Regions from separate parts of the Homo sapiens genome. Here region 2 is linked to region 1. Evidence: promoter capture Hi-C in human tissues and cell types (Jung and others, 2019). All regions are on one chromosome and are shown on one strand. Each heading gives the region's core, a stretch centred on a gene start or on the middle of the fragment in contact. The rest is flanking DNA. Distances are from core to core; before and after follow the strand shown.

What was found. The method cuts DNA at HindIII sites, captures the fragments that hold promoters and counts their contacts. A contact is called where the count stands out against the background at its distance.
Region 2: a fragment that was not itself captured here is called in contact with the fragment with the promoter of DNAH3 in region 1 in 1 of the 25 tissues and cell types used here (aorta).

The regions. Positions count from the first base shown.
Region 1 is chr16:21,149,534-21,152,282 of GRCh38, reverse strand. It overlaps DNAH3 (dynein axonemal heavy chain 3), which reads left to right and starts at 1,437. Exons shown (of 62, transcript NM_001347886.2): 1 at 1,437-1,532; 2 at 1,749-1,993. The coding sequence starts at 1,964. The HindIII fragment of the contact is 16,051 bases long and covers 1-2,749 here.
Region 2 is chr16:21,204,124-21,206,823 of GRCh38, reverse strand. ZP2 (zona pellucida glycoprotein 2) reads left to right here. Exons shown (of 19, transcript NM_001376232.1): 6 at 1,049-1,093; 7 at 1,240-1,404; 8 at 2,420-2,516; 9 at 2,613-2,700. Among named protein-coding and RNA genes, the nearest start is that of ZP2, 6.1 kb to the left of the region's middle. The HindIII fragment of the contact is 3,204 bases long and covers 1-2,700 here.

The sequences.
Region 1 (2,749 bases), core at 188-2,687:
TAGGAAAGTTATGTATCTCTCAGTTTTTTTGTTTGTTTTTCTTTTTTTTTGAGATGGAGTTTCGCTCTTGTTGCCCAGGCTGGGGTGCAGTGGCATGATCTGTGCTCACTGCAACCTCCCTCCCAGGTTCAAGCGATTCTCCTGCCTCAGCCCCCCAAGTAGCTGGGATTACAGGCGACTACCACCATGCCCGGCTAATTTTGTATTTTTAGTAGAGATGGGGTTTCACTATGTTGGCCAAGCTGGTCTCAAACTCCTGACCTCAAGTGATCCATCCACCTCAGCCTTTCAGAGTGCTGGGATTACAGGCATGAACCACCATACCTGGCCCATATCTCTCAGTTTTGATTCCTTATCCTTAAAATGGGAATATCGTGGTGTTTGGGGGGAAATTGAATGAAAAAAAAAGATATGCAAGCATGGCACCCCCAAAAAACTCATTAAGTCTAACTTGGTTTTGAGAGAACTTCACAGTGACCATGGAACATGTGCTTTTAATATTCGGGCGGCAGCTAATATTGTTACTTTTGAGTATGTGCACATGTATTTCTGTGTTTATCGTAATATTGATGTTAGCCACAACATTTATAGAGCATTGACTGTGTTGGGTGATCAAACTATCCCAGTTTGCCCAGGACTGAGATTGCTCCCAGGATGCAGGACTTAGTGTTAAAATGGGGAAAAACTGGGCTGGGCGCAGTGGCTCACACCTGTAATCCCACACTTTGGGAGGCCGAGGTGGGCGGATCACGAGGTCAGGAGATTGAGACCATCCTGGCTAACACGGTGAAACCCCGTCTCTACTAAAAATACAAAAAATTAGCTGGGCGCACTGGTGGGAGGCTGAGGCAGGAGAATGGTGTGAACCCGGGAGGCAGAGCTTGCAGTGAGCTGAGATCACGCCACTGCACTGCAGCCTGGGCAACAGAGCAAGACTCTGTCTCAAAAAAAAAAAAAAAAACGGGGAAAAACTGGGAAAATATCAGTTATCCTTCTACTATATGCAAATCGCTCTGTACACGTTATCCCGTTAACCCTTCAAAGCAACCCTATGAAGTAGGGACTCACATTATTGCCATTTTACAGACGGAAAGGACACTTGGAGAGATTAAACAACTTGCCAAGCCACACAGCTAATTAATGAGAAGAGTAGGATCTGAAGTATGACCTGTCCAATTGTAGATCCCAAGAACTTAACCACCATACTCTGTGCTTTTCGACGTCTCCAAAGGTCTTTTATTGCTGTTGCCTCTGTTATTCCTGGAACATTGCTAAACACCTTCCCATGTTCCCTTCTGTCACCAACACTTCCTGCTGCCCACCTGGGCCTCCAGCAAAGGGAGACACCAGCTCACAGAGCTAGGTCATGCCCAGTCTTGTATGTAGGCACCGCAGAGGCCCCTCCTTCCCTTAGCAACAGACGCTGAGACATGGTTACTGTGCCCAGCGCCTGCATACAAGCACTGCCAGTGTTAAGAGTCCAGGGAGGAGGAGGGAGAACAGTTCGGGCTGCCAGGATGTTGTTTGGAGGGGTGAGTCTCCCTCTTCTCTGTATTAATGTGTAACTCTGCTTCAGTCTTTCCTCTGCAGTGAACTCAGTGTGTTTCTGGAAAATTTCCAAGAGAGAAGCACTCAAGGGAAAGGAAGCGTGGCCACCGCTGGGGGACTAGGAACCAGAGCCAAAAGCGCAGCAGAAACCCAGTGCTGTCCCCTTATCTCTAGCTTCCCTTTCTCTCCTTTTTTACCAGGGAACTCCTCAGCGGGCCAAAGTCTATGACCTCAGAGAGGCAACCTCATGAACAGAGCTTTCAGAACATCTGGAAAGTTCCATTGTTGGTGTCATCCCCATTATGCTATAAGGAAGTGTGAATTTCAGACCAACTGGATAGGAGAGGCACATCCCTGGAGAAGCTGAAAGCTCTTTATTCATTTTAAAAAAATAGCTACAATTAGAGTGGACACCATGGGTGACATGGATTGCTCATCTCAGAAGGTAGGTGTGAATTTTAAGACGTTTCTTGTTTTACCTGTATTTTTTTTTTTTATTTTTTATTTTGAGACAGAGTTTTGCTCTTTGTTGCCCAGGCTGGAGTGCAATGGTGTGATCTCGGCTCACTGCAACCTCCGCCTCCTGGGTTCAAGTGATTCTCCTGCCTCAGCCTCCTGAGTAGCTGGGATTACAGGCATGTGCCACCACACCTGGCTAATTTTGTATTTTTAGTGGAGACAGGGTTTATCCATGTTGGTCAGGCTGGTCTTGAACTCCCGATCTCAGGAGATCCGCCTGCCTCAGCCTCCCAAAGTGCTGGGATTACAGGTGTGAGCCACCGTGTCTGGCCGATTTACCTGTATTTTTAATGTGTTGGGAATATGTGGGAAGAGGGCCAATTGGCATGTTAGATGCCCTTGACTGAACAAGTGTATTCATCACATTTTTTTGTTGTCTGCTTTGAAATATCATTTTTGCTGAATTAGACTTTTGGAAATCTTCAAGTTTTGCTGTGAAAAATCCGGGAATAGACACCCGTTCTTCCCTTTCCTTCCCTTCCAAGCCCATTAGACCATATATTCCAACCATCAGTTTTTGACTGTGGCTGAACATTAGAATATTCTGGGGAGCATCTTAAAAACATAGAGTCTTGGTCCCCCACTCCTAGATTCCGATCCAGAAGATTTGGAGTGGGGCCCTGGAATCTATATTTTTATCTAAGACCAGAGTGATTCTGGTGTAGCACGTCCTCAGACGAGC
Region 2 (2,700 bases), core at 148-2,647, 55 kb before region 1:
CTGACTGCTCGGGGTATATGGCTACTGCAGGGGGAATATGATGATGATCTAACCAGGGCGGGGCTTAGAAATCAGACCATGATTTAATCCTGTACTTGCTAATTTTCTGTGTGATGAGGTTTAACTTTACCCTGAGGCTTTGTTTCCAAGTCCAAAGTGATGGGACAATAATGCTTACCTCAGGGTGGCTCTAAGAATTTACTGAGGGTATATACATGGTACTTGGCACATCATGCATGGCAATAGGGTTTTATTGGTAGTTGCACTCACACTAATCATCTGACAAATGGAATACATGCCATGTTCCAGGCCCTACCCTAGATGCTAAGATACAATAAGTGAACAAAACGACCCAGTCACATCTTCATGGGTTTAGAGTCTAACATGGCTAATGTCAACAATGGACAACTAAAAATAACACTGACATAAAAGCAACTCAATAACAATGATAGAACTGCATGGCTTTTACATAGTACCTGATTTCTATGGACATTGGTGAAAGGGCAAACGTTTAAGAACATTGTCCTGGTCAGGCATGGTGGCTCATGCCTGTAATCCCAGCAATTTGGGAGGCTGAGGTAGGTGGATCACCTGAGGTCAGGAGTTTGAGACCAGCCTGACCAACATGGTGAAAACCCATCTCTACTAAATACAAAAAACTAGCCGGGTATGGTAGTACATTCCTGTAATCCCAGCTACTTGGGAGGCTGGGGCAGGAGAATCGCTTGAACCCAGGAGACGGAGGTTGCAGGGAGCCGAGATTGCACCATTGCACTCCAGCCTGGGCGATGAGCGAAACTCTATCTTGGGGGGAGAAATGTGTCCCAACTTACAACTGGAAAGGAGCTTAGATCTTCCAGCTGCCTCTTGGGATCAGAAGTTCAAAGAAGTATAATGACATCTAAGGGCACAGTCAGGGTTCATGTGCTTCTTCCACTGCATCCCACAGCAGGCCTTTTGGTATGACAACCACACAGCAATTTCTGGCATGAATTCGGAAACATCTACCTCCAAATCAAAGTCTTACATCACAATTCTTTTCTTCCAGTTTTCCTTGCCACGGGTCTTCTCTGGCTTGGCTGACGACAGTAAGGTATGAAGCAAATTTTAAAAATCAGACCTTAATAACCTTTAATTCTATGTTAAAGGTGATATTACCTTTAACCTGATAAATTGTTAGACTACCAGAGACTTGGTTAAGGGAGCACCAGCCCTCTAAACAAAGCTTTTTGACTTCAGGGGACCAAAGTTCAGATGGGATGGAGCATTGAGGTTGGTGATGGTGCAAGAGCCAAAACTCTGACCCTGCCAGAGGCCATGAAGGAAGGCTTCAGCCTCTTGATTGACAACCACAGGATGACCTTCCATGTGCCATTCAATGCCACTGGAGTGACTCACTATGTGGTAGGTGTGGAAGTCTGGCTTTGTACCACCAAAGCACAGGCCAGTATTCCTAAATTGAAGCATGATCTCAACCATGTCTTCACATTAATTTATAATACAACCCATTTTAATGCCTATTAAGTGCCAAACACTTCGCTGGGTATTCACACCTGTAATCCCAGCACTTTGGAAGGCTGAAGCGGGCAGATCGCTTGAGGTCAGGAGTTCAAGACCAGCCCGGCCAACCCTGTCTGTTTAGTGAAACCCTGTCTCTACTAAAAACACAAAAACTTAACTGGGTGAGATGGTACATGCCTATAATCCCAACTACTCAGGAGGCTGAGGTGGGAGAATCGCTTGAACCCAGGAGGTAGAAGTTGCAGTGAGCCGAGATTGTACCACTGCACTCCAGCCTGGGCGACAGAGCGAGACCATTTCTCAAAAATACATAATCCTTACCTCAATCTAGTCTCTTTCCCATAGTCTTAAATCTATAGTACAACACAGAACAAGCATATTCCTGAAAGCTTTATGGGTTAAGGGGTTCTGTTTGGGTTGTCATTGTCCTATATTGTTTTATAGCAAGTATTGGTGCTTTCCAGGCCAATAGTCTGAACACTGCACTAAATGAATTAATCTCCTAAAGTACTTAGGACAGGTCCTGAGATGTAAGTGCTCAAATGCCAACCACTTCAAGAACAGTCCTATCTCCCAGTAAGAACACAAATGGATTGAGGCTTGAAAACATTGTCTGGCTGCTGATACTTTAAAATAGTCATATGGGGTAAGGACAGATCTTATCTGCCTAGAAGTCATTGGCTACAGGTGATCTAGACAACATTCTTCCAGATGTTAGAACAAGGTTAAAACTAATATACCTCCAGATTAGACAAATTAGTCATTAGACAAATGCTTAAATCCTACTTGTGTCAAAGTAGTGCCCATTACTTGGATATATACTTGCCAAGATGATTCTTACTGGTTAGAGATTCAAGTAACCAATGTTTTTGAAGATCACTGTTATTTCTCCCCCTAGCAAGGTAACAGTCATCTCTACATGGTGTCTCTGAAGCTTACATTTATATCTCCTGGACAGAAGGTGATCTTCTCTTCACAAGCTATTTGTGCACCAGGTAAGGTCCCAGATAGCTGCAACCTCAGTGTGGGAGACATTGTCCTAGAAGCTTAATCAAGGCTGGTAATGGGCATTCTGTTGTCATTCCTTCTAGATCCTGTGACCTGCAATGCCACACACATGACTCTCACCATACCAGAGTTTCCTGGGAAGCTTAAGTCTGTGAGCTTTGAAAACCAGAA